Regions from separate parts of the Homo sapiens genome. Here all the other regions are linked to region 2. The links are contacts of gene promoters, found by promoter capture Hi-C in blood cells and fetal thymus (Javierre and others, 2016). All regions are on one chromosome and are shown on one strand. Each heading gives the region's core, a stretch centred on a gene start or on the middle of the fragment in contact. The rest is flanking DNA. Distances are from core to core; before and after follow the strand shown.

What was found. Contacts are between HindIII fragments. The CHiCAGO score rates a contact against its expected background, and 5 or more counts as called.
Region 1: the fragment with the promoter of CARINH here is called in contact with the fragment with the promoter of HSPA4 in region 2 in 1 of 17 cell types (fetal thymus); the score reaches 7.7 in fetal thymus.
Region 3: a contact is called between a fragment that was not itself captured here and the fragment with the promoter of HSPA4 in region 2, in 1 of 17 cell types (M1 macrophages). The highest score is 5.8, in M1 macrophages.
Region 4: a contact is called between a fragment that was not itself captured here and the fragment with the promoter of HSPA4 in region 2, in 1 of 17 cell types (naive CD8 T cells). The highest score is 5.6, in naive CD8 T cells.
Region 5: a contact is called between the fragment with the promoter of IRF1 here and the fragment with the promoter of HSPA4 in region 2, in 1 of 17 cell types (fetal thymus). The highest score is 5.1, in fetal thymus.
Region 6: a contact is called between a fragment that was not itself captured here and the fragment with the promoter of HSPA4 in region 2, in 1 of 17 cell types (fetal thymus). The highest score is 8.3, in fetal thymus.

The regions. Positions count from the first base shown.
Region 1 is chr5:132,408,769-132,412,479 of GRCh38, reverse strand. It overlaps CARINH (colitis associated IRF1 antisense regulator of intestinal homeostasis), which reads right to left and starts at 1,551. Exons shown (of 4, transcript NR_161242.1): 1 at 1,439-1,551. RefSeq lists silencers at 1,253-1,542, 1,613-1,912 and an enhancer at 2,153-2,202. The HindIII fragment of the contact is 5,230 bases long and covers 1-3,660 here.
Region 2 is chr5:133,050,415-133,053,854 of GRCh38, reverse strand. It overlaps HSPA4 (heat shock protein family A (Hsp70) member 4), which reads right to left and starts at 1,842. Exons shown (of 19, transcript NM_002154.4): 1 at 1,498-1,842. The coding sequence starts at 1,604. RefSeq lists enhancers at 1-628, 1,867-2,046, 2,237-2,286, 2,357-2,406, 1,593-2,555. The HindIII fragment of the contact is 9,846 bases long and covers 1-2,630 here.
Region 3 is chr5:133,984,054-133,987,440 of GRCh38, reverse strand. All of the region lies in intron 5 of VDAC1 (voltage dependent anion channel 1), which reads left to right. Among named protein-coding and RNA genes, the nearest start is that of C5orf15, 17 kb to the right of the region's middle. The HindIII fragment of the contact is 1,116 bases long and covers 1,271-2,386 here.
Region 4 is chr5:133,966,325-133,970,035 of GRCh38, reverse strand. It overlaps C5orf15 (chromosome 5 open reading frame 15), which reads left to right and starts at 1,411. Exons shown (of 3, transcript NM_020199.3): 1 at 1,411-1,590. The coding sequence starts at 1,452. LOC105379183 (a long non-coding RNA gene) reads right to left here and starts at 1,347. Exons shown (of 2, transcript NR_134247.1): 1 at 1,244-1,347; 2 at 1-285. RefSeq lists enhancers at 1,268-1,487, 2,118-2,217. The HindIII fragment of the contact is 3,928 bases long and covers 471-3,711 here.
Region 5 is chr5:132,488,994-132,492,367 of GRCh38, reverse strand. It overlaps IRF1 (interferon regulatory factor 1), which reads left to right and starts at 1,595. Exons shown (of 10, transcript NM_002198.3): 1 at 1,595-1,823; 2 at 2,885-2,976. The coding sequence starts at 2,890. RefSeq lists enhancers at 344-393, 434-643, 135-780, 914-1,053, 2,075-2,722 and silencers at 1,194-1,643, 1,904-2,183, 2,714-2,763. The HindIII fragment of the contact is 1,939 bases long and covers 1,105-3,043 here.
Region 6 is chr5:132,386,520-132,390,000 of GRCh38, reverse strand. SLC22A5 (solute carrier family 22 member 5) reads right to left here. Exons shown (of 10, transcript NM_003060.4): 5 at 2,850-2,976; 6 at 980-1,080. Among named protein-coding and RNA genes, the nearest start is that of MIR3936HG, 18 kb to the right of the region's middle. RefSeq lists an enhancer at 3,161-3,370. The HindIII fragment of the contact is 2,434 bases long and covers 944-3,377 here.

The DNA of each region.
Region 1 (3,711 bases), core at 302-2,801, 640 kb after region 2:
CTCCCGGGTTCAAGCAATTCTCCTACCTCAGCCTCCCAAGTAGCTGGGATTACAGGCATGTGCCACAATGCCTGGCTAATTTTGTATTTTTAGTAGAGACGGGGTTTCTCCATGTTTGTCAGGCTGGTCTCAAACTCCCGACCTCAGGTAATCAGCCCGCCTCGGCCTCCTGAAGTGCTGGGATTACAGGCGTGAGCCACCGTGCCCGGCAAGAGCAGCATTTTCTAAAAGCAATCAGTACTCAACACCATCCTGCTGAGGTAGGGCAGCGGCGGACTCCATGTTTTGAAACTTAGGAACTTAGACCATCTTTTGTCAAATTCAGATGGTTTTCTCAAAGTAAAGATCATTCAAGTTTTGTTTCAGTAATGGGCCGTATGATCAGATCTGTGTGATTAGGCTGAATTCATTATTATTGAGACAAAAATTGAGTTAAAGGGGATTCTTGGTATTGGCCTGCAAAACCTGTCATAACTTAAATGTAAAGTTTCTGATGATTTAGTCACTTTACTCTCAGCTCTTAGCTCTTTCACTCACCTGTCCTTGTTCTACACAACCTGCCTGATGGGTAACTTGAATACATATTTTCTCTCTTCAGGGGATGGGAACGCCCTAAGGGCAGGGGCTGTTTCCACAGCCCTGGGGTGGAACCCCCTTCCTGCATACCAAGAATGAGTTGGCTATACTTGACGAAGGGCAAAGACAAGGTGGCACGCATCTTTCATGCTTCTGCTGGCAGATGCAGTGGACTGGAAATTTCCTGGTCTGGGAAGGACTCGGTCTGTGAGTGCACCTATCCCTGACATCTATGCTAGCCCCGGGATGGGGGCCCCAGCAGAGTAAGGCCCTGACTTCACATGGACAGGGCCAGGGCAAGGGGGCCACATCCTGGCCTAGTTGCTCTCCATGCCCGTGATCAAGGGAGATGAGCTGCCAGCTTGCTCGGTCAAGGAACACTTGGAAGGCACTCCAAGTGCCCCCAGGTGCACCAGATCTAGGAAACTTAAGCAAACTACATGAGGTATGGGGTGGGGCCCAGTGGGAAAAATGAGTCTGACAGGTCAGAGGGAGTAGATTATGAGCTCAGGTTAGGCATTCTGTTCAGCATTTTACGTACACCCTCCCACTTTTGATTTTTACCAACACCCAGGGAGGTCGGTGCTCTACAAAAGGGAAAGGCGTGCTCAGGTGGCCCGACTTGCCACGGTTCCAGCTCGACCCCGGGCTGCTAGCCCCTTGGCACGCTTGTCTGAGGCCTCCCAGGTCTTCCAGCCTGGCCTGGAGGCTCAAAGCCACGAAACCCAAGGGTGCCGCTTCTCAGGCCCTCCCCGCCCCCACGGCAGAACCCCTGACCCTGCCCGGGTCAAACGCCTGGCGTCGGGCCCGCCGGGTCCGCAAGGAGGAGCCCGCGAGGCGGCCGCGAAGGGGCTGTGCTTACCTCGCCCGGCGCGGGTTGCGGCCCCAGGGCCCGCGCTCCAGGCTGGCGGCCGCTGCATTCTGCGCCCCTCGCCTGAAACGGCAGCTGCGCCAGTCCTGGCCACGACCGCTTTCATTTTCCTCAACGACATCGGCAGGAAAGCGAAAGCGAAACCCTCCGGGAGGCGGGACCGGGGCCGAGCGCGCAGTGAACGCGGGGCGCGCGGCGGGCGCGGGCCGGCAGCCAGAGGCGGGGGCCCCGGGCTCGGGTCTGCGCGTGGCCTGGCCCGGTGGCGTTCGGGGTGGAGCTGGGCCAGCCGAGTGCCCGAGAGCTAGTCCGCCACGCACACCTGCCTCGGCGGGACCCGGGCCCGGGCTGGGCGGGAGGCTGGGCAGGCCCGCCGTAAGTGGAAAGGCGCCCGCGGCGCTTCGGCCGACCGGGACAGGTTCCTCCATCTGCCCTTCATTCAGCGTTTACTTGGGCCTGTGGCTGGCAGCCGGCCCGGGACCTGACCGCTGGCGGCGCCTCGGGCTCTGGCCTGAGGAGGCAGATGGCAGCCTGAGCAACTGGGACCAAGCCTCTGAGGAGTCCCCGTTGGAGGGGACTTGACCATGAGGTACCAGGCATCTCATCTGGGGTCAGCGGAGAACCCAAAAGTCAATGACGTCGGTGAAATGGGGGTCCCTTCATCCGATAAGAGAAACTGGAACAGCAAGCCTATGGTTTGGACTCCCTGGTCTAAGCGGTGCCCATCAATATCTAAACATTTAGAGATTCCAGGTTTCAGTGTCTGGCCGTCTCTTACTGTCAGTGATTTGGGGCAAAATATTCAAGTAGTTAGACTTAATTACTTCCCCTGTGGGATGGGAATAATAATAATCATACCTACTGCCAGAATTTTAGGAATGAACAATAGAAGGAAGAAAATACTTAAAATTTTCTGACAGCCTCTAAGTGGGTTCCTTGAGGGCAGCAACCAAGTCATTTACCTGGATGCTTGATAGACATTCTCTAATGGCCAGTCCATCAACTTGGAGCTATCTCCATGATAACAGGTTAGTTGTCAAAGTTTGGACAATATTATCTGGAGTTTAAAGACTGAGGAAGCCCTGCAATTTTTTTTGGAAGGTGTCTGAAACTTAGCCTGACAATTAGCCCCCACAATTATGCCACGGAACCAGGTTTTTGTTAGAGTGGAGCATGGCCACAACGTTTGATGGACATTCCTACAGCGGTGTTCAGCGCTGGCCACTGAGGTCTGAAAATACTTTTGCAAGCATTTCTATTCACTTGCTTTTAGAAAACATTGGTAAGACACCATACTCCAAACACAGTTTGCCCTGTCTGTACGTTTGTTGCAAAGCAAACATAAAAGTTTTTGCCATAGAGCAAACACAGAGCAGTCTGTTATAACTGGAACAAGAAACCAAAATGAGCTATTAAATCTGCCCAGAGTCACTTTGGTTTACCTGTTTGTAATTTGGGCACATTCCCTGCAAGATGGAGGCCCTGGTCTGTGACTGATGTAGGGGCTTGTATGTGTCCTTGCAATAGTTCCCTCAAGAGCAGGTGGGAAAGTGGGGCAGGCCAAATGATGACCTTAGAAAAACAACAGCCTGTTTCTCTGTCCAGAAGATGCTACTTTTAGTCTGTAGTATGAAGGAAAAAGAAAAAACAAAAAAGGCAAGCCTTGGAGCCTCTTCCTCCTTATAGGACAATTCTTGACTCCAAGATAGCAAAGTAGAGTTAAATCTGCTTCTGCATAAAAACTATGTTTGGGAAGATGAAGATCAGGAAAAGACAGGAAGAGATGTAAGCAGATAAGCCAAATCCTGGTTACCTTTTATAGACATCACACATGTGAACAGAGAGCATCAGGAGGTCAAGGCCGGCCTGATGTTTTTCATCTTGGCAACTTCCCAAGGTCCAGGTTTGGTCCTTGACTTTGTGGGGCCAAAAATCTCATCTGACTTCCAGTGTACCAGAGTCGATTAGCACTGTTGCATAAAGTCAGAATGACAACTGACTGATTTCATTCACTATTTGCTAGAGAAGTGCTATGCTAAATGCATTACATGCATTATTACCTCATTATTTCTCCCTACTATCATGTGGTATATTATAATCTATTTATTTTTCATTTGGGAGAAAAAAAGATGAAGGAAATCCCAAGGTCACATAGTTACTATGTATGTTAGTGGCAGGGTTTGAATCAAGGCCATCTGACCCCAAAACCTGAAGCTTATCCATTCCTGTTAGAAGCAAGACTGTCGGGAACACTGGACTCGAGGCCA
Region 2 (3,440 bases), core at 593-3,092:
CACCCCGTCTCTACTAAAAATACAAAATTTAGCCGGGCATGGTAGCACGCGCCTGTAATCCCAGCTCCTCAGGAGACTGAGGCAGGAGAATCGCATGAACCCCAGAGGCCGAGGTTGCAATGAGCCGAGAGCATGCCACTGCACTCCAGCCTGGGGCGACAGAGCGAGACTCCATCTCAATCAATCAATAACAAGTGAGCCCCTGGGCAGGGCACGGTGGTTCATGCCTGTAAGCCCAGTACTCCAGAAGGCCGAGGCTGGAGGACTGCTTGAGTCCAGAAGTTCGAGACCATCCTGAGTGACATAGTGAAACCCGATTTCTACTAAAAATAAATAAAATTAGCCAAGCATGGTGGCGCACGCCTGCAACGCCAGCTACTCAGGAGGCTGAGGTGGGAGAATCACCTGAGCCAGGAGCCAGGGAGGTCGAGGCTGCAGTGAACCAAGATCGCACCACTGCACTCCAGCCTGGGCAGCCAGAGTGAGACCCTGTCTGTCTCAAAAAAGAAAAAAAAAAAAAAAAAAAGAAGAGAGACCCTGAATGGCAAATAATACAGAACTTCTTACAAGATTTTGTCTAAGAACACGACAACGGATTAAAATGTATCTACAAGTATTCAAAAGGCAGACACTGTAACCAGTGAAAGACCTGAGTGACCCACCATTTTTTAGAACTGTGTCTATGCTGGTCCCAAAACTTACTATGGGTTCTAGAAGTCAAGGCGGGCCCTTGAGCCACTAACAATTGTGGCCAACACACTGGTTAGAATGCATTATCGTTAAAGTGCAACCCTATTGAGGGGTTAACGCGCACAAAACAGAGAGTGACCCAATATAGCACAATATCCCGAAATAATGTGGAAAACAAAAGCGATTGCAAAGTTATCATAAGAGCACCGATTTTATTAAATTCCTATCCGTGCCAACCCAATCTCAAGACCCCGAGTCCATCCGGAACCCGTGCCTGAGGCTGCTCCAGCTCGCTCTCTTCCGGGCGCTGCCCCGCCCCCACTCACGTGGGACGCTGACCGCTCCACGGTCTCGCGGCTGGCAAGCCCCAGAACCCGTTCGATTCAACTATTATTAAGCGCCTGCTGTGTGCAAAGTTCTGAGCTTTCTGTTGGACTCAAAAGACTCAGTACGACCTGGGCCTGGTCTCTGCCCTCAAGAAAAGGACCGCGATCCGTTTACATCCTAGGCCTGCAGTCCTTCCAGTTCCTACCCGTGCCCTCCGCTGGTCCGAGTACCGGCCAGAAGCCTTTCTTCGGCCGACGGGCCACCGGGGAAAAGGCCCTCGCGCTTAGCACACACCCACGCTCATAGTGGGCCGCGGCCCCTAGTGTCCTAATACCTACTGGGGGTCCCTGACCTACCGGGACCTCGGCTCGGAACGGAGGCGACTCCTCGGCCCGCGTTCCCCAAGCAGCGAGGGTCCCAGACTGGAACAAGCATTATCTCCTAACCCCAGTGCACGCGGCAGGCCCGGCCCACACTTACGGCGTGCAGCGGTCGCTATACTCATTAGCGATAGTCTCGATGCCGCCGGCGCGGGCCACAGCGACGTAGCAGCTCTGGAAGCCCAGGTCTATGCCCACCACCGACATGGCGCCGGCTACTGCTCGGGCTCGGGCCCGGGTCCGGCCACCGAGACAGGACACGGACCCCCGGCGGGGCTAGCGAGTGGAAAGCAGGCCTCTTGGGCCGAGGCTACTGAGGGGCTTGCGGTGTCCACGCGAGCGCCTAAGTCCTTCCAGTGGGTACTGCAACCGAGAGCGCTGCTCAGGCCGGCTCCGGCTCAGTGGCCGCAGAGGAGGCGCCGGTAGCGGGGGCGGAGAAGATCTCGAAAGATCTCGTTGCGACGAGAGCGGAGCCGCAGCACCAGAGCTACGAAAGAACGGGATGTTCTCGCGATATCCCGGCTCAGGCGCTTTTCCCCTTGAGGCCCCGCCCCCAGTACGTCTGAATACGTCACGTCCTGGCTCGAGAACCTGGGAAAGGACTGGGTGGCTGAAAGATGGCTGGAAAGCGCATTTAGCCAACCGAGCCTGCGCATGGAACCTGCGGCGCTGCACAGCTGCATAGAGATGTGGAGCACCTCCCTTTACCGTAGAAAGTAGGCGAGCCAGCTCGAGGCACTATACTGAGGAAGCGCTGCGGCCTACTTCCGCCGTTTTTCTTAACATCAAAGAAACTTCCGGTAGTGGGGTGTCTTGCATTCCACCGTGTCGGTGCCCCAGAATGAGACGCAAGCTGATCTGCAGATCCCGCAGGGTGCCTTCTGCTCTTTTCGGGGCAGGTTGGCCGGTAGGGGAGAAGGCCGCCATTGGAACGCGGCCTTTATGTCGGGTTCTCTCAAGAGTCTAAGATCGCACCCTCACCAGCGGAGGGAAGGAGCCCACTCCCAGCCACACCGCTTTGTTTTCTTTCGCTTAGCCTTGTTGCGCCGTTCTCTAAGCCACTCATGTCCTTAGATCAGATTGAGGGGCCCGCAGGATTTAAGCCTTTAATCCACAGCACATTCCAAGCACCTACCCGGTGGTAGGCCCTAACAAGGAACACAGGCAAGTGACACGCTGCCTGGCCTGAAAGGTCCGCTCAGACCTTTACATGAAGTTAATAAATGTTAAGCTTCAGGGCCCCTCGCTTGTATGGCCTCCTGGGAGAATAGATAGTTGCTGAGTTGTGGAGAGGGGAAGCCAGCTTGAGATTAGGAAGCAAATCTATGTAAGCATTTCTAATAAATTACCCAGAGAGATCTAAGGAGAATCTGAATCTCCAAGTCTCTAGTAATGTGTTGTGATTTGTCGTTTTAATTATTTGTTTTGTGTATTTGTAGGGCCCCCCAATGGTATATAAGTTTCACCTCTGCAAAACCTGGATCATCCCCATCATGAGGGTGGCTAAACAAGTAAAGGTGACCCCAGTACAGAATGGCGAGTGCTATATGCACAGAATGGTGGAGACTAGGACAACTTCCCAGAAAAGGAAAAGGCTGTGTTCAAGTTTGGAAAACTAGCAATAGAGACCATAGTTTAAGGACTAAAAAGAAATTCTCCGTTGCTGGAGGGTACATCATGAGTTGAAGGTCTCAAGGCTAGAGTACCTGCCCTTCAGCCATTTTAAAAGTGAATGAGCAAAGAAGAAATTACATTGCCCTGGTATGCCCTTCCCTTTAAATACCTGCATTTCCTGCCACCTCCGGAGGTACTTCACTCTATAGGAGCAACCCCAAACCCGGGTTGATTACCATTAAAACTTGCAAATGGCCACACTGTTCTCACATTTTGCCTAACTAAAACCTGTTAATTCTTCAAAGACAAGTACCAGGTGCTACCTGTAAAAGGGTACTGGGAATAAAAAGAGTAGAGGCAGCCAGGAACAGCCTTTGGAAAAACGAGAGCAGGGACATATTTGTACATTGTATACCCATGTTCATAGTA
Region 3 (3,387 bases), core at 579-3,078, 930 kb before region 2:
CTCCCAAATTGTTGGGATTACAGGTGTGAGCCACCACGCCTGGCTACAAATGGTGATTTTCTTTTCTTTTTTGTTTTTATGAGATGGGGTCTCACTCTGTCACCTAGGCTGGAGTGCAGTGGTATGATCTCGGCTCATTGCAACCTCTGCCTCCCTGGCTCAAGGGATCCTCCCTCCTCGGCCTCCCCAGTAGCTGGGACTACAGGTGCCTGCTGCCACCCCTGGTTGATTTTTATATTTTTGGTAGAGACAGTGTTTCACCATGTTGCTCAGTCTGGTCTCAAACTCCTGACTCAAGTGATCTGCCTCCCACCTTGGCCTCCCAAAATTCTGGGATTACAGGTGTGAGCCACCACACCTGGCCTCAAATGGTAATTTTCTATTGCCATCCTTCCTTCACTTGTTAATTGGTATTCTACCGTAAGGAAGAGCTATTCCTTCTTCCCCATGTATTTATTTAATCAATTATTTATTTATATTAGTATAGATGCATGGACATTTACTCTATGGGCTATAATGCACAGTGTCATTTATTTTGTCGCTCAAGTTGTCCCAGATATGGGCTTTGGGAGAATACACTCTGTGTGCTTTTTGACAAACCTCTGTCGTTTTTCAGAGCATGTCTTTATTTCTGGTTTTAGAAAGTGTACCACGCTCATCTAGTACTTGTTTTTCCCCAGTCCTGCTATCTGCCATTTCTCCAAGGAGCCTTGGTTCTTTATGTTGGAGAATGATATTTAGAAACTAAGATTGTAGGCCTGGCGCGGGGGCTCATGCCTGCAATCCCAGCACTTTGGAATGCTGAGGCAGGTGGATCACGAGGTCAGGTGTTTGAGACCAGCCTGGCAAAACCCTGTCTTTACTAAAAATACAAAAATTAGCTGGGTGTGGTGGCGCACACCTGTAATCCCAGCTACTCAGGAGGCTGAGGCAGGAGAATTGCTTGAACCCAGGAGGTGGAGGTTGCAGCGAGCCGAGATGGTACCACTGCACTCCAATGTGGGCGACAGAGCAAGACTCCATCTCAAAAAAAAAACAAAACTAAAATTCTGGGTGCTAGATGTACATAATGCTACTGGGTATTTGAGGAAAGTTCTGGTGGTGCATCATGGAGATTAGAAACGAAAGCTGGCTTTCCAAAGTGACTGAGGGTACAGCCTGGGAAAACACCTGGCTCCCAGGAGGAGCGGAGTGTAGACCACATCTGGATGAGGCCACAGACCTCAATAAGGACCAGCACCCACGCTGAGTATCCATCACAAATAAAGCTTGCTTGTTAACCACAAATCAGTCAGGCCTCTCTCGGGTGCTTGTCAAATTAGCACTACTGTTGAAATAGCTTAAAAATAAATCCCAATAATATCTGAAAGAGGAAGACTCCACAGACATGGTGTGCAGTGTTAGAAAGAGACCTGGAGAGAAGCCTGAGCCACTCCCCAGCACTGCCCTTTCTCTTGGGGATTGTGGGCCCTGGCCAGAATCCAGTGAGACAGTGGGTGGGGGTGCCATGTCAACTGGTGCAGGTGGTGCACACCACTGGTCAGAGGCCCTGCCATAGGCATCATAGTTTGTGATCATCAGCAGCTTTTTATTAAAAATTGAAAAAGGAGATGGTTAGAAGATGCCTGATTTTATATTTCCTTTTCCCTTTGTAAATGTCAGCCTCTCAACAGCTGTCTAATCATCAGTCATCTCAACCAGCCTGGTGCCAATCACATACTTGGCTGAAACCCAGACTTCTTTCCCCAAAGAGCAGGCAGATGAAGATAGGTTTCTTTTTCTTTTTTCTTGAGACATCTTGCTCTGTCGCTCAGGCTGGAGTGCAGTGATGTGATTTCAGCTCACTGCAACCTCCACCTCCCAGGTTCAAGCAATTCTCGTGCCTCAGCCTCCTGAATAGCTGGGATTACAGGCACATGCCACCACGTCCTGCTAATTTTTGTATTTTTAGTAGAGACAGGGTTTTTCCGTGTTGGCCAGGCTGGTCTCCAACTCCTGACCTCAAGTGATCTGCCCTCCTTGGAGTGCTGGGATTACAGGTGTGAGCCACTACGCCTGACCAGTTTTGGATTTTTCTTATTGAGAGATAATTTGGTTGTTACTCCTTTCCTTCAAACCTTGCCAAAATGTACAGAAGTAACTTGAACAAAATTGAGGTTCCAAGGCATAAGTTTCATTGTCACTTGTTCTGTTGGTGAGCAGGTCTGTGCACACCTACTCCCAACTGCTGAGGGAGCTGAGCAGCCAAAGAAAGAGACTGACAAATCCAGTTTCTCAGAAAGAAACATTTAATAGAGACTTACAAATAGAAGCGATGTCTCAAGCAGCCAAGAGACAGTGGATCCCTGCATTCATCCTCCAGAAAGTATTCTTTATATAGCAAGCTTTTAGAGTAAAGACATGTGCATGTCTTAGACCATCTTGCAGAAAACTCTTGCAAAACTTGTGACCAAAGGGAGGTTAGATAAGCATCTTTACTTTTTAAATTTTTATTTATTTATTTTTTTGAGACAGTCTCACTCTGTCACCCGGGCTGGACTGCAGAGGCGTGATCTTGGCTCATTGCAACCTCTGCCTCCCGGGTTCCAGCGATTCTTCTGCCTCAGCCTCCTGAGTGTCTGGGACTACAGGTGTGCACCACCACACCCAGCTAATTTTTGTATTTTTAGTAGAGATGGAATTTTGCCATGTTGGCCAGGCTGGTCTTGAACTCCTAAGCTCAAGTGATCTACCTGCCTTGGCCTCTAAAAGTGTTGGAATTACAGGTGTGAGGCACTGTGCCCGGCTGGCATTGTTTCTTTTATGGGATTGTCTATGATGCATTCCTTGGTCGTCATGGCTGTATTAGGCTATTCTTGCCAGGCAAGGTGGCTCACGCCTGTAATCCTAGCATTTTTGGAGGCTGAGGCAGGCAGATTGCTTGAGCCCAGGAGTTGGAGACCAGCCTAGGTAACATGGTGAAACCCCATCTACACACACACACACACACACACACACACACACACACACACACACACACACGCTGGTCATTGTGGTGAGCGCCTATAGTCTTGTCCTTGCATTGCTCTAAAGAAATACCTGGCCAGGCGAGGTGGCTCACACCTGTAATCCCAGCATTTTGGGAGGCTAAGGCAGGCAGATTGCTTGAGCCCAGGAGTTGGAGACCAGCCTAGGCAACATGGTTAAACCCCGTCTACCCACATGCACACACACACTAGCTGGGCCTGGTGGTGCGCACCTATAGTCAGTTCTAGCTACCTGGGAGGCTGAGGTGGGAGGATCACCTGAGCTCAGGAGGTAGGGGCTGTAGTGAGCCATGATCGCACCACTGCACTCCTGCCTGGACAACAGAGTGAGACCTTGTCTGAAAAAAAGAAAAAAATACCT
Region 4 (3,711 bases), core at 1,185-3,684, 920 kb before region 2:
AGGACACCATTCAGTCTAATACGGGCTTCTGGGGGATTTCGGGAAATGTGCAGATGAATGACTTCTTAGTTTTCTTAACACAGAGTTTGTGTGTTTCTGAGCTGTCACCAGGGTGAGATAAAAGCTTAGGGGAAACCAGATTCAGGAGTAGAACACAGGCCCTTTAGAGAGACAGCTCAGCTGTGTCTCTGGGGGATAACAGCAATCTTCGCAGGGAATCATAGAGACCAGAATGGTGAAGCTGTGGGCACAATAAATGTCTTGCTTAACGTCACATTGATTTTCCTGAAATTGATCAAATGGAACTTTTATGAATTGAAGCCTGTATCTGTTTATTAAGGAGACATTTACAGAACGTACACACAGAGCAAAGTATGGCGCCAGGGCCCTAGGTGAACTTCTTGGAAGTTTGTAAGTTTGCATTTTTATACACTGGGGATTTCAAGTAACAAAATTTAAAAAGAGAAGCTTATTTTAGGAAATCTGAAAGTTATTTTCAATGGCAGCCCCTCACCTCTACTTCCTAGCTACCTTCCTTTCTTTTCCTCCATAATTTTTTTTTTTTTTTTGAGACGGAGTCTGTGGCCCAGGCTAGAGTGCAGTGGCATCTCGGCTCCCTGCAGCCTCCACCTCCCGGGTTACAGCGATTCTCCTACCTCAGCCTCCCGAGTAGCTGCGATTACAGGCACGCGCCACCACGCCTGGCTAATTTTTGTATTTTTAGTAGAGTCGGGGTTTCTCCATGTTGGCCAGGCTGGTCTCCAACTCCGGACCTCAGGTGATCTGCCCTCCTCGGCCTCCCAAAGTGCTGGGAGCCACTGCACTAGGGCCGGTCCATAATATCTTTATCATCTTGTATAGTGTGTATTTTACACCATATTCGCCCTCACAAGAAAATAAACTGCCAAGGCGGGCGGGGGGGTGGGGGGTTCTTTTTGTTCACTGCTGTATCTTAAATAGGGAGAGGTGCTAAATCTTTGTTGAAAAAAAATAAATGACTGTCGGGAAAGATTTTTAAAAATTACTTATAATCCCATCACCGAAATAGGACTACTTAACATTTGTGTTTCTTTCGCCTTTGAGAGAGGAAGAGCAGTTACTTCGCTTTCGTGATCAGTCTGTTCTACAGCTGGATCTTCCTTTTTAAAATGGCTAAAAACGCTATTTTTGGCTGTATAGTACCCAATCATGCAGGCGGCAGGGAGGGGCTCGCTTTGGCCCTCTTCAGCACGTCACACCCTACCTTTAATCCGCAGCCAACTGTGTGGCGGTCCCCACTTTCGCCTAGCGGCAACTCCCTCCTCCCTGCAATCCTTCCTTCTTATTCCGGTTTCCAGAGCACGTCTCCAGGCTTCGACGTCACCACGCTGGGACGTATGTGCCGAGGGCCGCGGCGTCTGACCTCATGGCGTAGAGCCTAGCAACAGCGCAGGCTCCCAGCCGAGTCCGTTATGGCCGCTGCCGTCCCGAAGAGGATGAGGGGGCCAGCACAAGCGAAACTGCTGCCCGGGTCGGCCATCCAAGCCCTTGTGGGGTTGGCGCGGCCGCTGGTCTTGGCGCTCCTGCTTGTGTCCGCCGCTCTATCCAGTGGTAAAGGGGGGCGGCAGTGTGGGCTTAGGAAGGCTAGGAGGGCTCGGGCGCAGGGCAGGAGACAGGCCGGGCCAGGGAAAGGGCGCTTCCAAGTGTCAGGAGCAGACGGCGGTGTCTGGTTGGGTCAGGGTCTCCGCGGGCCTGAGGACGGAGGGTATGGTGTCTGAAGGGGTCCAAGGTGGTAGGGTCTCCAAGGGGCCTGAGAAGCGGGGTCCCTGAGAGATGCAGGAACCCAGGGAGCAGGCAGCAGGGTGTGTAGATGGGCGGGGAGGGAGGAGTGGTGTTAGCGCCTAGAGATCGTTGAAGAATGGGCTGCCGCAAGGAATGGCGGTGGTGGGGTCTCCAAAATTTCTTGGATCGGAAAGTTAGGAGACTCTGGAAGAGAGGGTGGCGACAGGGGCTGAGGAGGTGGCCGGGGCTGGGGGTGTGGTGTCTGGAAAGGGTCCTGAGTTTGGGGGACTCAGGAATCTTGCAGGACCAAGGAAAGGTGGGGGTTTTCCAGAATGGGAGAGGTCAGTGGTAAAGACCGAGGCGGGCAGGGGCAGTAATCCAGTGACTGGACTGAACCAATGGAATATTTCCGAGAGGGAAAGTGAAAGGGAAAGAGCTGTCTTAGGGTACTGGTGCATATTTGAAGACTGGGAGGTTCTGGTGTTTGATAAAGATTCAGAGTACTGGGGCGTTGGGCCCCTGAAGGCTTGGGAGGCAGAGAGGAGTTTGGAGACAAGGGAGATCATGATTCCTCTTCCCTGTGTTCCGAGTTAACCAGGATAACCCTGCCTCGTTTTAATGCATCTGTAGGATTTGATTGATAAAATATTTCATTTCTTGCAAATGTTGCATGGTGAAATCAAGAGATTGAAGGCTTTTATTGAGAAATTAGGAAATCTGTAAACCAGTGCCTGATACTTGGTGGGAAAAATCCACTATTAAGAACTTGTAAGGATTAAACGGTATTTTGTTTAGTAGTCCCATTTTTCTTTCAGGCCAAGACACAGTCCTGCGTTTCTCCCTAAATTTGAATTTTCAGCTGCAAAACAGTGTGACCTGGTATAGTGTTTTCTTTCTTGCCAGCAGGGCCTGTCCAGCCCTACATTCCTCTGCGACAGTACTGTGGGTACATACTTATGTTTCCTCAGCAACATTTCAGTGTTGCTAACTGGACGCCCTCCCAGAAGTCTTTGCAGTCCCTGAGGAAGGACTGCTGTCCATTTCCTAAGGCCCTTTTATCATTAGTGAAATGTAATGAGGATTTCCCTGGTTGATGCAGATATTCCCGTTCCTAAAGTACTTAAGTAGCTTAATTGTTTTGGCCATTTAATCATCTAAGAAAAATAAAACACAAACATTTATATTTCCTGCTGGAATGCTTAAGGGATATATATCTGGCAACTGTAGTTTCAGAAACAGCTTTTTTCCCCTAAGAGATGGTTGAAAATTGGGCAAGAAGTGAGGCAGAATGTGGACTGTTAAGTGTCCTTTAGTCTCTGCTTTTATTTGTTAGAGCCCTATAAATATTTTTCTAACTATACTGAGACATTTTAGAGAATCTTTATCTTTTAAATTAAGTCTTTACATACACCAGTTTAAAATGTCATAAATTCAGATTATTCTGTCCTGAAAAGAAGCTAAATGAAAACGAACATACATGTCTTTAATAGGCGAGCAGCTCCACTGCACTACAGTGTAGCTTGGGATATAAGTATTTTTTGTAAGCATACCTTATAATTTCAAAGTAGTCACTCCTGTAATAAGAAAATTAGTCTAGAATGTGTTGAGTTCCAAATTTCAAGTGAGTTTACAAAGGTAGAAGGTTACCACATTAGATTTATTTAAATTTGTTCCATATTAGGTTTTAAAAACTGTCAATGCTTGGTTATATGCTCGTCAGTCTGTAAGAATTTTTGTTTTATGTTTTTGTTTTGATCAAGTCTAAAAAATTAACATAAGCAGTTTGGATCACTGGGTGACTAATTCTTGGTCATGCCATTTCAAAAATGCCTGGTTCTCTACATTTGCCATTATATTGTCCCCAAATGATCACCTAAACTTAATGTATAATGCATTTCATTTTTAAGGCATTGTTTCTCAAACCAGTGTGTGAATGAGTTCTCGGGGTCC
Region 5 (3,374 bases), core at 346-2,845, 560 kb after region 2:
CTCTCCTAGCTCCTGACCCACCTCTATCTGGTAGACAGTTTTGCCCATTCCTGCTGGTATCCTGGGAACCAGGTTTGGCATTGGTCACAGCACTCAGATTGCAATGCGCCAGAATGGGATTAACCCATGCATTTCCTCTACGGGAGGGAGGTAGAGTGACTGGCAAGTCGAATGTTGCATGGGTGTGTCTATTTATAGCCTGCAAAATGGGGTGCTGCCCTGGAGGGAGAGCTGGGGTGAAGGAAATGACACGCCTGGGAGAGTAACTTACTTCTGCAGGAGCTTTAGGGAGATGAAGGAAGAAGCCTCCTGGGCCAGAGTTTTGGATGGAAAATGAACACCCAGTCAAGTCTCTAGGACTATACGTGGGGCGGGGACTAGTTGTGCGCGAGAGTTAAGTAGGGGCCTTACCAAGGAGCATGGGACCTGGGCTCCCCAACCCTTTGGCTAGCCCCATGGCGTTGATCAGCCCTGAGCTAATTCCTCCATGCTGCCCAGAACCTCTCTGGGCCAAGCCCTGGGGACTCAGAGATGACAGCAATGCTTCCATTGCGGAACTCCCATACGCGGGCCACAGGGAGGCTCTGGAGGCGGCCTGAGGCAAGAGTGCTAGGAGGGATCAGAGCTAGCCCACCCCTACCCTCACTCAGCCGTCTGGGCTTCTCTGAACCCCTTCTCCTCCTCTGTTCCCTAAAGCCAGCCAGGGGGAGTCCCAGGGAGGCAGACCGAAAAGGGGTGGGGTGTCATCCTGGTCACTATTAGACCCTGCAACGGCGACCTTGAAAACTACTCAGCGTCTGTTGCCCGAGTGGAGCATAGTGCTTTACAATCTCTTCCCATCACAGCAAACCATCAAGGTAGGGCTACTATTATTTTATGGTTGAAAAACAGAGGTCCTGCGTCCCTTGGGGGCTGTGCCAGCAGCGGCCAAGTTGGGATTTCCCCTGGTCCAGCAGCCCCAGACAGCACACGGGGCAGGGTAGGCTTTCTGCCTTCTTCACTTCCCCAGGGCAGGTGAGTGACCTGGAGGGAGGGGGTCACCCCTAAAAACAGGGGTAGTGCTAGGACTGAAACCCTCCCTTCTTGATATCCCACTGGCAAGCTTGAGGAGCCAGGCTGCCAGTCGGGAGATTCGGCCCAGTGTTCCCACTGGAGAGGGCGGCAAGTGCCCGGGCGATCCCCTCACCTGCGTTCGGGAGATATACCCCCGCCCCCGCCCCGCCAGGAGGGTGAAAAGATGGCCCCAGGAGCCAGCCGGCTGGGACAAGGCGGAGTGAGAGGACAGGCTGGGGCCAGGGGCGCTGGGCTGTCCCGGGCAGCCCTCCTCCGGGCAAGCCGGAGCAGGGGTGGATTGGGAGCGCTCGGGGCGGGCCCGCGGTGGCCCCGGGGCGGTGGCGCCCGGCCGGAGAGGGTGGGGCGGAGCAGCCGCCCTGTACTTCCCCTTCGCCGCTAGCTCTACAACAGCCTGATTTCCCCGAAATGACGGCACGCAGCCGGCCAATGGGCGCCCGCGCGGCTGTCCGGGGGCGGGGCCGGCCAGGGCTGGGGAATCCCGCTAAGTGTTTGGATTGCTCGGTGGCGCCGCTGCCCTGGCAGAGCTCGCCACTCCTTAGTCGAGGCAAGACGTGCGCCCGAGCCCCGCCGAACCGAGGCCACCCGGAGCCGTGCCCAGTCCACGCCGGCCGTGCCCGGCGGCCTTAAGAACCCGGCAACCTCTGCCTTCTTCCCTCTTCCACTCGGAGTCGCGCTCCGCGCGCCCTCACTGCAGCCCCTGCGTCGCCGGGACCCTCGCGCGCGACCGCCGAATCGCTCCTGCAGCAGAGGTGAGTACGCCTTTGAGGCGCGGGGCACCGGCGGCGTCGAATAAAAGGCGCGCGGGGCACCAGGAAGTGGGGGGTCGAAAGCTCCAGGCTGGAGACTCGCCGGCGCGCGGCGTTGCCCGGGCCTCCGCGCGGGCTCCGGGGGGCGCCGGAGGAGCTGCGAGCCGCGGGCCGCGGCGCGGGGAGGGCGGGACGCGGCGTGGACCGCCCACCCGGACGAGGCTGCCGGCGCCCGGCAGCTTTCGCAGATCTGCGTGCGCGCAGCCGCCAGGGGCCTGTAGGTGGCCCGCTATGTTCGTCCCGCGCATCCACACGCCGTGCCGGGGACCGAGTGTCAGCCCACGCGTGGGCGCCCAGTGCTCCCGGCTTTCGGCGGTCCCAGCTCCGCGCCCAGGCGACAGGTTTTGGGCTCCCTGTGCTGGTGGCAAGGGCTGGCTTACTGCCCAGGTGGCTGGAGGGAATCGTGACCTACGGAGACTGCGGGAAGAGGCGCCACAGGTGTTCCTTGGGCCACTTCTCCAGAGGAGGGGAAACCGGGCCGGAAGGGTTAGCGTCCTGGTCTTAGCGTTGTGGGCGCTGTGGCTGTCAGGAAGGCGTAGAATGGATTCAGGGGGGCGGGAGGGGGCTGTTCAGGGTGACGGCTAGCCCTTTGCTAGCTAGTGGTTACAACTCAAGTCAAGGGAATTTCTTCTTGGCATCAAGCAAAAGAAGTCCCTCCCTTCCCAAAGGATTTGAATTTTGAGCGAAAAGTTCTGAAATTAGGGTATCTGTGCATTTTGTCTCTTTTCCTGCATATGAATCCTGAAGCCATCACTTGCATGCCTGTCTCCTCCAGAGACTGGCTGGGAGGGGCTGAAGGAAGGGGCAAAAGCATTTTTGCCTAAGATGCTGAAAAAATTTGGAGAGCAGTTTTATTCCAGCGCAGCTCCCCTCCGCACTGAGTGTAGTACCTAGCAGCTGGCTGAGGTGAGGGGAGGGTAACTAAGTGACCTCGGGTGGGGCAGGTCACTGCCCAGGTACTGTTCAACAGATTCCAGACTGGAGCCTCTGTGTTCTCTTTACAGCCAACATGCCCATCACTCGGATGCGCATGAGACCCTGGCTAGAGATGCAGATTAATTCCAACCAAATCCCGGGGCTCATCTGGATTAATAAAGTGAGTGTAACTCTTTGGGTTTTCCTGCCACTGTTTTAACCCATGTACTTCTGGAGGGACCAAAGCTTCAGATGCAGCTCAAAAAGGGAAGTGATAACGGGACAAGCAGGTGTTTCTCCCAGTGGGTCCTGCATGCAGGGAGTGTGCACGGCCCAGCCTGGGCCTCACTTGCATGACTCCTGCCTTCTTCCCTTCTTGAGGTAGGGCACCCACCTGAAGGCACTTCCAGTTTCCAGCAGCAAGACTTTCCAGCATCTGCAGAGCTGGAGTTCTGCTCTCCTCTAAGCGAGACCCTTACAAACATACACAGCACTCTGCAGGGCTCCAATCGAACAAATAGAAGACTGAGAAGTGGATGCTGCTGGGCAGAAACGTGCCTGGCTTAGCAGAGGACAAAC
Region 6 (3,481 bases), core at 911-3,410, 660 kb after region 2:
TGTTTTGACTCATCTGCAGGTGGAACACACAGCTGGTACAATAAAAAGAGTATGTGCATGAGTCCCCAGGAAATCCAGAGCAGGGAGGAGAGCCTGGGTGAACACAAAAGTGGGTGACTCATCACAGGCTTGCATGTCTGTGGTGCAGGCTACATGCTGCTCCTGTCTTGAGGCCAACTCAGGGAATGGTGAACTGCCTGGAGGGATCCTGGGCCATTCCTTGGAAGCGGGTGACTCATAGCACTCCCTCAGTAGGCACAGTGGCTGACTGCCTCAAAGCTGGATGAGACTAGTAATAAGGACTCTGAGATGAAGTCCGCCCTCCTCGCCCATCTTCTCACCGCTAACCCACCAGGCTCCAGAAGTCGCCTAGAATCCCAGGGTTCGGCCGCTGAGCAAAAGCTAGCGATGTGCACTTGGACATGTTTCCTCTCCCTGGTAATTCACAAATCCCTTTCTGACATACTTTGCCTCATTAGTGGGAACCTGGTAAGGACATCTAGGCTATAGCCCTGACTCCAGGACCGTTTATGGACATCCCAGGAGGAGCACATCCCACTTCCACATTTCCAGAAAGTAACTGGCAGCCTCTGCAGCCTACAGGACATGGTGTCTTCACTCAGATCCTTCTTAAAAGCCCTACCTGGCCTCCTCAGCCACTGTCGGTAACTGGGTAGGAGACGGGAACTAAATGACCCAAATTGGGCAAGGATTCATCTTAAGATCTGGAGAGATTCCCCACAAGAGTCCATATTTCCCACAACAGCCTCCACAATTGTTTTCATTCTCCTTTTCTGAGGTTCCATCCCATTAAGAATTGTGACATGCCCATTTTTTCCATCTAACACAAGACATATCCTTTTCACTCTCTGATGACATAGGCTTTGAATTTTGTCTGAGGCATGTCTGTAAACAAGAGGCCCAATGGCCACTTCAAGAAGCTTTGTCTGGAAGCCTCAGGCAGGTCTCTTTTACATACCACAGCATTATGGACATGATGGTGACCATCCGGATATTCCAGGTTCGAAGCAGATCCAGAATGTTGTGGGACTGCTGCTTCTTGGAACTTAGGTCTTGTAACTGCAGGAACAACATCATAAGTGTATGGGAAGAAGAGGTGGTCAGAGACTCAGAGCACACAATAACATACTTGAATCCCTGGCATCTTAGCTGTCTGCATCTCAGCGTCGGGGAGTGTTACGTTTCTAAGAACAGTAAGTATACTGACTGTGTTTTAGGCTGTGAAAACTTCCCTAGGCCTTGTCAGTAACAAATCAGAGTGAATGAAAATGAGGAAAAGTAAGTGACCAGTCCCTCAAGGGTACAGGAAGACAGAGGCCCAGGCTGACAGCTTCCTCACTGCACCCCCACATATTCCTGTCGGTGGCCACATTCCAAGGAGGCCTCTAAGTATTCCTCCCGAAGCCTGGCTCCCTGCCCTCTGGGTCAGAGAGAGTACCTGGCTGTGTGGTTTATTGGTCTGATATTTTTTAAAAGTTAATGTTTTGAGTCCTTATACTATGTAGTTACTGGTGTGCTTCCAGGGAAAAAGAATTCAAATAGAAAAACAGGAAAATTGACCTGAGCTTCACCCAGAGTGACTTCCTATGAAATTCAGCACAGCCAAGGCCATTAATAAACCACACGTCTAAACACACTGATGTTGCTTTCTTAAGCAAACCCAGGTTTGGAGCTTGTTTTTCCAGAGTTAGAAGTTCAACAAAAGGTCAACTTTGGACTGAAAGTATCCCCTGAAATAGCCTCATTTCCTCAAAGATGCCAGTGGGGCTTATGCATTCACCCAGATTGACCCCTCACTTAAAAGCCCCCAAAACCACCTAACTTAAAAGCCCTCTGCCACACTCCTGCCTGACCTTTGCGCACAGGACCCCTTTCTGGTGCATGCTGACAGTGGCTGCTGGGCCACCACTCACTGGGAAGTCTGCAGGGCTGGCAGTGGCCATTGGCCTCCGCTGTCTACAATAACTGTTCCCTCTTTTCCAAGCCCAACCATGCCTGCCTCTCACACTTCAGCAGGGCTGCTTGTGGCTGTTCCCACACCCAACCCCTCATCTTCCAGTCAGACCACAGACACATTCCAGAACCCCACCAGGCAGCATTTACAGCTTCTAACCTCTCATAGTCACGAGACCAAGGAAAACTGCCTGCTACAGAGATGGTAGGAGAGGGAACGGGAAGGAAAAGCAAGAACCAGGAACTAGGTAGAGCCAAGAAATGAGTCATGGTGTGTGAGAACAGGGCTGACGGGAGGGGTGGGGTAGGGGGAAGAGGTGGACATCAAAAAGGACCTGACTCCAAGATGATATGCAATAATTAACCATTGGAGGGCAGAAAGAGACTAAACACTTTTTTTTTCTTTTTAATGAATAATTGCTAATACTCAAGAGATGAAATACTTCTAACTCCAAATCTATTTGTGCTTTACATTTTACGTTTGGGGTTAGCTTTGTAAGGTGACAAGCCACCTTAGGTATAAGAAACAATGATTTTCCCAAATGCTGACTTTATGAAAGGCCTATTACTCAAAAAGAGTATTTATTGTTAGAAGTAATGGTTAAAATATATGATTGCCTAGAAAGGAAGTAAAAAATGAAAATCTGAAACCCGTGGTGAAAAGAGTGAGGCAGCTGTAACCTATTCCTCAACTTCTGAGTGTTAACAGGGCCCGTGTGGGGGTGGGGAGTGGGGGGATGGGGGGAATGGGCAGTTGGGGCTTGGGCGGAGAGAGGGCTGGGCTGCTGTGAGCAGGGAGGACTTCAGGGCTGGGTGCTGCTGCTCTCAAATCACGGTCAGTCTGTCCCTCTCACCCACACCCACATGGTGCTTACCTCACTCGGGTCAAAGATAGTGGAAGGCACAACAATCCCATTGGCTTTGGCAGCCTTGCGGATGATCACCTCTGCCTCTTCAAATCGTCCCTGAGAGATGAGCCATCGGGGGGACTCAGGGATGAACCTGGCAGTACAAGGTCCAATCTCAGTGAGGCCTCCCTGCCAACAGCAGACCCACAGACCAGGTAGAGCACAGCCATAGGTGGGAATAAGGTTGCAGAACCAGAGCTTGTGGAATGTTTGGTGATCACAAGCCAGAAGCAAAGAGCTGATCCACACGCAGCAATAACCTGGGGTGGATGAGCTTATGTGTACCCCACACCGCACAAAAATGGGAGAGCCCTGCACCCCCTGACGGCATCCCCATGCTGGCTGGCCACCTCCATTTCTGAAGAGCAGTGTTGCCATCTGCTGGGCTGAGGAGATGGGTGCAAGATGGGCTCCGGAAGCCTGGCTTCTGTGCATGTCTATGTCAGCCCAGGCCCTGCTACACTCTCCTCCCTGTCCCCGGCACCAACAGAAGCTTCTGCACTGGCCTTTTAGCTTCTCTTCTCTCCTCACCCTACCCCTGATTTATCCAACAGATTAGTCAGATACTCTACCTAAAATAGCATGTTTGGCCAGGTGCA